3 separate regions of the Homo sapiens genome follow, and all the other regions are linked to region 1. The links are contacts of gene promoters, found by promoter capture Hi-C in blood cells and fetal thymus (Javierre and others, 2016). All regions are on one chromosome and are shown on one strand. The core of a region is centred on a gene start or on the middle of the fragment in contact, and the rest is flanking DNA. Distances in the headings are between cores, read along the strand shown.

What was found. The method cuts DNA at HindIII sites, captures the fragments that hold promoters and counts their contacts. A CHiCAGO score of 5 or more calls a contact.
Region 2: a contact is called between a fragment that was not itself captured here and the fragment with the promoter of CATSPERT in region 1, in 1 of 17 cell types (endothelial precursors). The highest score is 6.3, in endothelial precursors.
Region 3: a contact is called between a fragment that was not itself captured here and the fragment with the promoter of CATSPERT in region 1, in 1 of 17 cell types (endothelial precursors). The highest score is 5.2, in endothelial precursors.

Annotation. Positions count from the first base shown.
Region 1 is chr2:201,617,577-201,621,338 of GRCh38, reverse strand. It overlaps CATSPERT (catsper channel auxiliary subunit tau), which reads left to right and starts at 2,161. Exons shown (of 16, transcript NM_001168221.2): 1 at 2,161-2,439. The coding sequence starts at 2,209. It overlaps TMEM237 (transmembrane protein 237), which reads left to right. Exons shown (of 13, transcript NM_001044385.3): 13 at 1-1,153. The HindIII fragment of the contact is 11,514 bases long and covers 1-3,762 here.
Region 2 is chr2:201,394,130-201,398,183 of GRCh38, reverse strand. It overlaps TRAK2 (trafficking kinesin protein 2), which reads left to right. Exons shown (of 16, transcript NM_015049.3): 6 at 1-39; 7 at 604-682; 8 at 2,740-2,870; 9 at 3,312-3,386. Among named protein-coding and RNA genes, the nearest start is that of FLACC1, 39 kb to the right of the region's middle. The HindIII fragment of the contact is 1,727 bases long and covers 1,627-3,353 here.
Region 3 is chr2:201,363,790-201,367,559 of GRCh38, reverse strand. It overlaps a transcript of FLACC1 not described here. Among named protein-coding and RNA genes, the nearest start is that of FLACC1, 8.3 kb to the right of the region's middle. RefSeq lists an enhancer at 3,644-3,693. The HindIII fragment of the contact is 842 bases long and covers 2,035-2,876 here.

The DNA.
Region 1 (3,762 bases), core at 912-3,411:
ACTGCCAAGCTGTTTTCCAGAGTTGGCGGTACCATTCTAATTTCCCATGACAATTTTTTGAAGAGTCCAAGCTAGTTGCTTTAGAGTGCCTCACCTACATTTTTTAATTGTCTGACTTTTTCCTAATGACATCACTTAATTTGTTCCTCAATCTCCTGAATTTCCTATAGACTGGAGGTTAGGTCTGGTGGTTTGATTAGATTTTTTAAAAAAATATGACTTCATCTGTGATGCTGTGTACTTTATGTTGCATAACATGAACCCTAAGAACAGAGTGAGCTGCTGGACAGCAAGTTTCATGGGGTGCAGTAATTAACACACCACATAGTATAAATCTGAAATAATGACAAATGTGTTAAGGGCCTTGGGATATTGGGCCATGTACTCTGAGGAGCACAAGGTGAGGTGCAGGTTCCTGCCCCTAAAGAACTCTATCTTTTGAGATTAGCAACTAACAGTGTGAGCCCACTAATAGGATGTGAAAGTTGTCAAAATCAAGTTCTGGTCATTGTGTTAAAAATCCTAACAAATAGAGCTGGGGAAGGCCGTGAAAGGACGATTTTCATGCACAGATGTCTGATAATGAGGACTATCATTAAAAGACTGCACAAAACCACACCTTGCACAAAGGCCATCACAACCTGACACACACAAAAAATACTTCTATGAGGACATTTGCCCAGCAACTCCCTGTCCAATGTCCAACTGGCAACATCCTTGTTATTGATCCTTGTAGCCAAGGATAATTCTCTCAAAACAATCATTTTTGCTTTAAAAACCGTTGTCTTCCTTGACCTCCCTGTATATGCACATAGTTTACTGTGGCACTTGTATTCTTATTGCAATGCCTACTCCTGAATAAACATCATTTTCTTTCAGAGAGTCTCCCTCTCTGTTATTTAGGCTGACAAGGATATGCCAAGAAGTAGCTTGGATATAGCAGTTAACTCTGCCTTTAGGATATGTGTATGGGGATATAAGAGTTAACTAAAAGCTGACCTTTGAGTTGGTCCTTGAATAAAAGAAGAATAGATTCCAAAAATAAGAGGAATAAATAATGATCCTGAGCTAGGAGAGTACATTTTGCAGACCTTTGGTTTCCATATTAAGAAATTCAGATTTTTATGTACAATAAAGAAGTTCTGGAATTCTCTGGTTTTGTTCTGTTTGCATTTATTTATATTTTTAACTTTTAGGTTCAAGGGTACATGTGCAGGTTTGTTATATAGGTAAATTTTGTGTCATGGGGGTGTACAGATTATTTCATCACCCAGGTAATAAGCCTAGTGCCCAAAAGGTAGTTTTTGATCCTCTCCCGCCTCCCACCCTTCGCCGTCAAGTAGGCCCCAGTGTCTGTTGCTCCCCTCTTTGTGTCCATGTGTTCTCATTGTTTAGCTCGCATTTATAAGTGAGAACGTGGTATTTGGTTTTCTGTTCCTGTGTTAGTCTGCTTAGGATAATGGCCTTCAGCTCCATTCGTTACTGCAAAGGACTAATACGGGGGCAGTGAAAGGGATGGATGACAGCAGGTTGGCAGACCCATGAGTAAATCATTGCAATTGTCTCGTGTGTGTGTTGTCCCAAATTAGGTGCCATAAAGGGAAAAGGTAAGTAAGATTCAGATATTTAGGGTCAGAATTTTAAAATGTGTCTGAATGTTTAAGATTTTGTGGATATGACATTGCTGCACCAAATGAGTTTGGAACCTACTAGAGGTTTAAGAGGGAAGATGAATATTAACGTGTTATGTGTCTGTGGAACAATTGGGTAAAGATGTCAAAGTAGACTGTTGGATATTTAACGTCTGGAGCTCACGGGACAGTGTAGAGGAAGTAATGACTGACACTGTAAATCTTCTAGAAAGAAATGGTGCAGGGAGAAAAGGACTCGTGAGGGCTACAGGGCGGACAAGACAGTGAACTAAAGTGGTTGGGCCCCATGAGGGGCCTTGCTCTCCACCAGCGTGCTCTGATTTCCTTCTAAAGGAGACTGAAATGGCCTGGCAAGTGCTTGCAGCAGACCCTCCAGGCTCGCTAAGCACGCATGCTTCCAAAGCTGCCTCCAGCCACTCCCAGCATGGGCCCGGCCTGAGTGGGTCACTAGGCGGCACGCACGCGCTGGGAAAATGTGAGAAAGGCTGCGGGAGGGCCGCGCCTGCGCAGTAGCGGGCCGTCGGTTGGGCGCAGACAGGCCGCAGAAGATGGAGAGATGGAGCCACCCCAAGAGACAAATAGGCCTTTCAGCACACTTGATAACCGCAGCGGGCAGGTCCAAGTCCTGTCCGCCACCCCGCTATTGCAGAGGAATCCCTACAGCAGCCCGGATATCATGCACATTAAAGGGTCGGAGGCTTCTTCGGTCCCTTACGCCCTGAACCAGGGCACGACGGCCCTGCCTAAGAACAAGAACCAGGAGGGCACCGGGCACCGGCTGCTGAACGTGAGTGAGCGGGGGCCTGGCCGGCACCTGGAGGACCGGGGCCAGCAGGGCACCTGGAGGGTGGTGAAAGGATTAAAGGGTTCAATGTGTGCCAATTGCATCTCCCTTCAATTGGCACACATTGAACCCTTTAATCCTTTTTTTTTTCGTTTATAGCAATTCCTTTTTTTTATTTTTATTTTTTATTTTTTATTATACTTTAAGTTCTAGGGTACATGTGCACAACGTGCAGGTTTGTTACATAGGTATACATGTGCCATGTTGGTGTGCTGCACCCATTAACTCGTCATTTACATTAGGTATATCTCCTAATGCTATCCCTCCTCCCTCCCCCCAACCCACGACAGGCCGTGGTGTGTGATGTTCCCCCCCCGTGTCCAAGTATTCTCATTGTTCAATTCCCACCTATGAGTGAGAACATGCAGTGTTTGGTTTTCTGTCCTTGCGATAGTTTGCTGAGAATGATGGTTTCCAGCTTCATCCATGACCCCACAAAGGACATGAACTCATCCTTTTTATATGGCTGCATAGTATTCCATGGTGTATATGTGCCACATTTTCTTAATCCAGTCTGTCATTGATGGACATTTGGGTTGGTTCCTAGTCTTTGCCATTGTGAATAGTGCCATAATAAACATATGTGTGCACGTGACTTTATAGCAGCATGATTTATAATCCTTTGGGTATATGCCCAGTAATGGGATGGCTGGGTCAAATGGTATTTCTAGTTCTAGACCCTTGAGGAATCGCCACACTGTCTTCCACAATGGTTGAACTAGTTTACACTCCCACCAACAGTGTAAAAGCGTTCCTATTTCTCCACATCCTCTCCAGCACCTGTTGTTTCCTGACTTTTTAATGATTGCCATTCTAACTGGTGTGAGATGGTATCTCATTGTGGTTTTGATTTGCATTTCTCTGATGGCCAGTGATGATGAGCATTTTTTCATGTGTCTGTTGGCTGCATAAATGTCTTCTTTTGAGAAGTGTCTGTTCATATACTTTGCCCACTTTTTGATGGGGTTGTTTGTTTTTTTCTTGTAAATTTGTTTCAGTTCTTTGTAGATTCTGGATATTAGCCCTTTGTCAGATGGATAGATTGCAAAAATTTTCTCCCATTCTGTAGGCTGCCTGTTCACTCTGATGCTAGTTTCTTTTGCTGTGCAGAAGCTCTTTAGTTTAACTAGATCCCATTTGTCGATTTTGGCTTTGGTTGCCATTGCTTTTGGTGTTTTAGTCATGAAGTCCTTGGCCATGCCTATATCCTGAATGGTATTGGCTAGGTTTTCTTCTAGGGTTTTTATGGTTTTAGGTCTAACATTT
Region 2 (4,054 bases), core at 1,241-3,740, 220 kb after region 1:
AAGGAACTGGAAGAAGAGAATATGGCTCTTCGATCCAAGGTACGTTCAACCTAATTGCCATTTTCCTTTACTTTAAAGGCTATAAAGTTCAGGTCCAGGTACTATTGAGGTGAAATATGGCATAAGTAAGGATTTGCTATTGGCATTCCAATTAGAGAGTCGTGGACAAGGAGCTGTATTTTTCTTGCCTTCCACTGTTCTTAGATCCCACTGAAAAGTGGATAGTAGCAGGTTGACAGTACAATAGTGAAAGTCACAGGATAGAAAATGTATCTTGTGGAGTTTACGCAAGTAACTAAGTAGTTACAACTGTGATAACTTTTACACAAGTAACTAAGTAGTTACAACTGTGATAAGAACTATCTCAGAAAATCACAATATTCTGTGAACTTGTATAGTATGGGCATCAAGGAAGTCCTACTTAAGCAAGGATCATTTTAGCCAAGGCCAGGGATGAGCCAGGTAGAGATGTATGAACAGGTTGTTGGGTTTTTTCCTTTGTAAGTGATGAAATTTAGTCTTCAAATGAGAATTAAAGGTTTTTGTAGTTATTTCTATAAAATCACTAGAAGGTATTGTCACATACTGATTTTTTTCTTGAAGGCTTGTCACATAAAGACAGAAACTGTTACCTATGAAGAAAAGGAACAACAGCTTGTCAGCGACTGTGTTAAAGAACTTCGTGAGTATTAACATATTCTCTTTTGTACCTTTTTGGACAATTCTTTGGTAGGGTATCTCCACCTCGGAAGTTAGATCACTGGTTTCAGTAGAAGCATCTCAAGAAACAATTTTAAATGGTTACTGAAAATCTTAGAATATCACATTGAGCCTACAACCCTAAATAAGATACCATATGTATTTTTAAGAAATATATTTGTTTCAAATTGCAATTATCATTACAGACCTATGTTTTGTAAGTAAGTTATAGCATGTTAGAGTGAAAGGAACCAAAGCTCTCATATTGTTGATGAGGAAATAGTCCTGTAGAGGAAGATGATATGCCAAAGTCAGAAAACTGGTAAGTGGCAGAGCCAGGGCTTAAATGATGGCATAAAACCTAACAATCAATGAGTATAAAGTGCCAGTTATGTTTCTTTAAAGGAATGTGTTTTAGTTTGAGGTAATGTTAACCAATTTTTTAAAACAAGTCAGTTGGAAAAAGATTGGCTTCACTGGAGAAAGATAAATTTAATTTCTCCATAAATACAACAGTTGTCCCTTACCTGCAGTTTCACTTCTCATTGTTTCTGTTAACCGTGGCCAACTGCAGTCTGAAAATATTAAATCAAACATTCCAGAAATAAACAATTCATGAGTTTCAAATCGCGAACCATTCTGAGTAGCGTGATGAAATGTTGTGCCATCCTACTCCATACTTCCCAGGATATGAATCATCCGTTTGTCCAGTATCTCCACGCAGTATATACTACCTGCCTTCAGTCACTTAGTAACCATCTCTTAGTAGCCGTCAGTTACCAGGTCAACTATCGCAATATTGCAGTACTTGTGTTCAGGTAACCCTTATTATACTTAGTAATGGCCCCAAAGTGTGCTGATATATTGTTATAATTATTTTATTATTAGTTATTAATCTCTTACTGTGCCTAATTTATAAATTAAGCTTTATCATCGGTATTTATTTGTAGGAAAACACATAATATATACAGTATAGAGTTCAGTACTATCTGTGGTTTCAGGTACCCACTGCAGGTCGTGGAATGTATTCCCGACAGATAAGAGGGGACTACTGTATATAGCCTTTTACATTGAAAACAATGATATGAAAATATCACATCAATTCATTTGGGCTATGGGCTTCAAAATGTGATATCTTAGAATAGCAGAATACTAGAGAACCGGAAGGAATGTAAATTGAATTTTCTCCTCCACCATGAAAACATTACCCACCTTTTACACTTTAAAATACAGGAAATGACTTGCCCAAGAGCTCTCAGATCCAGATCTCCTGCCTGTGTATCGCCATCCTTTGAAATATTAGAGGCTATCTGTCAATTTTAAAATAGCTTTACATGACACTGAGAAGTAGCTTTTCTGCTTGTATTTACATGTCAAATTTTTCATATGAGATAGAGAGTGAATAAATTCCTAGTGGAATTCTAAAGGCTCTATTTTATGTGCATGTAAGAAGGCCAGGCTATAACAATTGCTCTAGAGGCTTTACTCAGTTTGCCACATATCCCTGAAAGGGGTATGCCAGAAAGTCTGTCTCCTACAGAAGCATTTCCGTAGCTTTATCACATTCTGTTATAGATTGTGACTGTTCCATTCTGGAAATGTTCCTTTGTTAGATTTGTTAAGATTAATTTTCATTGCTTGTGGGATTTTATGTCCCTAAAGAGTTCTCAAAGAAATGAATGAGATTATCTCTTTGCACTTGCCCTCCTTTCAGCCTTCTTTCCTTCATAAAGAAAAAGATTGAGCAAATATCGTTTTCATAAAGAAAACGATTGAAGCAAAACCTTTAGCCTGCTTGCCTTTATAAGTCGTCTCTCTTTTTAGCTTCATTGTCTCCTATTCTGTTCCCAGCATTTGCCTATTTCAGAAGAACTTTTATTTTTCTCTATTGGTTTCTCTGGATTTTTTTTTATGTTTAAGAAAAATCTATTCACGACAGTCCAGTGCTTGTTATAAAACAAGATTTAGCTCACAAGTCATAGTTTGCCAACTCCTTCTCTACATTTGTATTAATTTAAAAAAATTTTTTTTGCTTCCAAGGTGAAACAAATGCTCAGATGTCCAGAATGACTGAAGAATTGTCAGGGAAGAGTGATGAGCTGATTCGATACCAAGAAGAGCTTTCCTCTCTTTTGTCACAGATTGTAGACCTTCAGCACAAACTTAAAGAAGTAGGTTTATTCATTCATTCAACAGATATTTGTTAAGCACTCACATAGTATCTTGCACCATGCTAAGTGCTAGATACAATAAACAAAATAAACATTGTCCCTGCCCTTTTAAAATGCCCTAATCTGATTGCTGTTTTAATCATCTTTATGTCATATAAGATATCATGAATAAATACTTTCAAGTCATTATTTCTCTTTGTAAAATGGGGTTAGTGCTTCCTCAGAAAGTGGTGTAAATTATTGACTCATGCCCATTGTCCTCTGAACACCTTGATAGATTTTGTATTCGAATGCCTATCTTATTTAGCTTTTGAAAGGTTAGCTTTTTGTAGGCTTTAAGATGATACCCCAGAGAGAAATTCTTCACATGTCTTTATAAGAAAGAGAATAGCTATATTTTACTTGGAAAGGCTTCACATGTCTTTTTTAATATGTTGTTAGCATGTGATTGAGAAGGAAGAACTAAAACTTCACCTGCAAGCTTCCAAAGATGCCCAACGGCAACTGACAATGGAGGTAATGAAATCTTTATCTTGTGTAATTCAGGAGGGGAAAGAGTGACTAGTTTCTTTCATCTTCATGAATAAGAATTATTAAAGGGGAATTACCAGATTTAAAAAACAACAACAAAAGGTTAAGATGATATTATGAGATCTAAGAAGTAAAGCATTTTGGCTGGTTGTGGTGGCTCACGCCTGTAATCCCAGCACTTTGGGAGGCCGAGGTGGGTGGATCACCTGAGGTCAGGAGTTCAAGACCAGCCTGGCCAACATGGTGAAACCCCATCACTAATAAAAATACAAAAGTTAGCTGGGCATGGTGGTGGGCATCTGTAATCCCAGCTACCCAGGAGGCGAAGCAGGAGAATCACTGGAACCCAGGAGGTAGAGATTGCAGTGGGCCCAGATGTGCCACTGCATTCCAGCCTGGGCAACAAAGCAAGACTTCGTCTCAAAAAAAAAAAAAGAAAGAAAAAGAATAAAGCATTTTAAAAGTCCTGTCCCTAAAACTAGTAACGTGGTAACATCCTTCTTGATTAATAGGGAAAACCTCAACTTTATAAGATTCTTTAGGAGTATATCACTCTTTTACCAGCTGACCTAAACTAGCTCAACAGTTTTTAAAATAAGATAAGTTCTAGTAGTAAATCTTTGTGCAGGTGTGTCAGGAGAAGAAGCAAAAAA
Region 3 (3,770 bases), core at 1,206-3,705, 250 kb after region 1:
CACCTGCCTCAGCTTCCCAAAGTGCTGGGATTACAGGCATGAGCCACCCTACCCGGCCTGATTTTTGTTTTTAATTCAATTCTTTTTATATGGTGAATCACATTTGTTGATTTGCATATGTTTAACCAACCTTGCATTCCAAGAATGAAGCCTACTTGATTATGGTGAATTAGTTTTTTGATGTGCTGTTGGATTCAGTTTATTAGTATTTTGTTCAGGATTTTTGTGTCTATGTTCATAGGGATTACTGGCCTTTAGTTTTCTTTTTTCATTGTGTCTTTGCCCAGTTTTGGGATTAGAATGATACCAAAACTGGCTTCATACAATGAGTTAGGGAGAAGTCCTTCCTTAGTTTTTTTTAATAGTTTCAGTAGAGTTGGTATCAACTCTTCTTTGTATATCTGGTAGAATTTGGCTGTGAATTCTTCTGGTCTGGGCCTTTTTTTGGTGGTTAAATTTTTTATTACTGATTCAATTTTGGAACTTAATGTTAGTCTATTCAGGCTTTCGATTTCTTCTTGATTTAATCTTGGGAAGTTGTGTGTTTCCGGGAATTTATCCATTTCCTCTAGGTTTCTAGTTTTTGTGCATAGAGGTGTTCATAATAATCTCTGAGGATCTTTTGTATTTCTCTCAGTTATAATGTCACCTCTGTCCTTTCTGACTAGGCTTACTTGGATCTTCTTTTCTTTGTTAATTTAGCTAGCAGTCTATCAGTCTTGTTTATTTTTTTCAAAGAACCAACTTTTGGTTTCATTGATTCTTTGTATGGATTTTGGGGTCTCAATTTCATTCAGTGCTGCTCTGACTTATTTCTTTTCTTTGCTGGCTTTGGGATTAGTTTGTTCTTTTCCTGTTTCCTCTATGTGTGATGTTAGATCATTAATTTAAGATCTTTCTAACTTTTTGAGGTAGGTGTTTACTGCTATAAACTTTCCTCTTAAATATTGCTTTTGCTGTATCCCAGAGATTTTGATATATTGTTTCTGTTTTCATTAATTTCAAAGAATTTTTTTATTTCTACCTTAATTCCATTGTTTACCCAAAAGTGATTCAGGAGCAAGTTGTTTATTTTCCATGTACTTATGTGGTTTTGAACAGTCTTCTTGATACTGATTTCTATTTTTATTCCACTGTGGTCTGAGAGTATGGTTGTTATGATTTTGATTTTTTTTTTAAATTTCTTAAAACTTACTTTATGACCAAGCATGTGGTCAATCTTGGAGTCTGTTCTGTGTGCAGATGAGAGGAATGTATATTCTGTGGTTGATGGGTGGAATATTCAGTAGATGTCTATTAGGCCCAATTGGTCAAGTGTTGAAGTTAAGTCTAGAATTTCTTTGTTGTTTTCTGCCTCAGTGATCTCTCTAATGCTGTCAATGTGGTGTTGAAGTCCCCCACTACTATTGTGTGGCTAAGTCTTTTTGTAGGTCTAGAAGTACCTGTTTTATGAATCTGGTTGCTCTATTGTTGGCTGTATATATATTTAGGGTAGTTAAGTCTTCTTGTTGAATTAACTCTTTATCGTTTGTCCTTTTCTTTACTGTTGTTGGTTAAAAGTGTGTTTTATCTGATATATGAATAGCAACCCCTACCCATTTTTTGTTTTCTGTTTGCATGGTAAATCTTTTTCCAACCCTTTACTTTGAGCCTATGGATGTTATTAATGTGTGACAATGGTCAGTCGAAGGTAGCAAATGGATGGCTTTTGTTTTTTTATCCAACTTGCCACCCTGTGCCTTTTAAGTGAGGTGTTTAAACCATTTACATTCAAGGTTAATATTGATATGCAAGGTTTTGATTCTATCATGAGATTGTTAGCTGGTTGTTTTGCAATTTCTGTGGTGTGGTTGCTTTATAGGATCTGTGGGCTATGTTCTTAAAAGTGTGTTTCTGTGATAGCACATATCATTCTATCGTCTCCGTGTTTTGAACTCCTTTAAGAATCTTTTGTACAGCTGATCTGGTGGTAACATATTCCCTTAGCTCTTGCTTATCTAGAAAATATTTTCTTTCTCCTTTGCTTATGAAGCTTAATTTGGAGGGATATGACATTCTTGGCTGGAATTTCTTGTCTTTAAAAATGCCGAAAAAAGACTTCCAATCTCCCCTGGCACGTAAGGTTTCTGCTGAGAAGTCCATTGTTAGCCTGATGCATTATCTTTGTACACAATCCGACCTTTTTCTCTAGCTGCCTTTAAAATGTTTTCTCCTGGGCGCGGTGGCTCACACCTGTAATCCCAGCACTTTGGGAGGCCAAGGTCAGCAGATCACTTGAGGTCAGGAGTTCAAGACCAACCTGACCAACATGGCAAAACCCGGTCTCTACTAAAAATATAAAAATTAGCTGGCCGTGGTGGTATGCACCTGTAGTCGCAGCTACTCAGGAAGCTGAGGCTAAAGAATCGTTTGAGCCCAGGAGGAGGAGGCTGCAGTGAGCCAAGATAATGCCACTGCACTCCAGCCTGAGTGACAGAGTGAGACTCCATCTTGAAAAATATATATATATATATTTTCTTTAGCATTGACCTTGGACAGTCTGGTGGCTATATACCTTGGTGATGCTCATGTTGTATGGTATCTTGCAGGTGTTCTCTGGATTTCTTGTATCTGGATGTCTACCTCTAGCAAGATTAAGGAAACTTTTTTGAATTATTCCCTCAAATATGTTTTCCAGGTTGTTCACTTTTTTCCTTCTCAGGAATGCCAGTAATTCACAGGTTTGGTTGTTTTACATAATCCCATATTTCTCAAAGCCTTTGTTCACCTTTAAAAATTATTTTTTCCTTATTTTTGTGTAACTGAGTTAGCTCAAAAGATCAGTCTTCAAGCTCTGAAATTCTTTCTTCTGCTAGGTCCAGACTATTGATAAAGCTTTCAATTGTATTTTGAAATTCCCTGAGTGAGTTTTTCAACTTCAGAAGCTCTGATTGATTTCTTTATAAGATGTTTATCTCTTGCTTCATTTCCTGGATTGCTTTAGAAGTTTTGTGTTGTTGATTTTTAACCTTGACTTGGATCTCATTGATCTTCCTTGTAATCCATGCTTTGAATTATTTATCCGTTCTTTCTGAGTTTCTATTTTGGCTATAGACCATTGCTGGAGAGCAAGTTTGATCCTTTGGTGGTGTCACTATATTGAGATTTTTCATGGTGCCAGAATTCTCGCACTGATTCCTTCTCATCTGGAGATGCTGGCATTTTAATTTTATAGTATTTTCATATAGGTTAGGATTATTTATTTTTCCTTCTGTCCCTATAATATTATTGGGGTTTTTTTTCTTTCCCTTTCCCTTTTCCCCCCTCTCTAGGGAGTGTGACTATAAAGAATGCTGGGTAGGGTCTTTTGGCTTTGCTTCTATAACCCTATTCACTTCTGTCAGCAGGTTTTATACTGGGCTGTGCAGTTCAACCTACAAACCAGTAGATGGTGCTAATAGGTAAGAGCCTGCTATGGCCAATGTGACTGAGTATATACTTGATCCTTGTTTATGGGGAAAAGCTCTGTTACCTCAGGCAATGAGCTGATTCATGGGGTGCATAGTGGTCTGAGCTCCCTGCTCAGACACAGGGAGGGAGGGGCCAAAATGAGCAGAGCTGGACTAGGCAGGTCCAACTACAGGTCCCCTGATGGCAGGTACAAGTACCAGCACTGAGGGAGAATGCAGTGGGTAGCCACTACCAAGCACCCAGAGATGCTTGGGAAATTTCCTCGACCCCAAGTTCCCTGCAAAGGGATGGGGGCGGCTTAAACTAATCCAGTAGAGTGA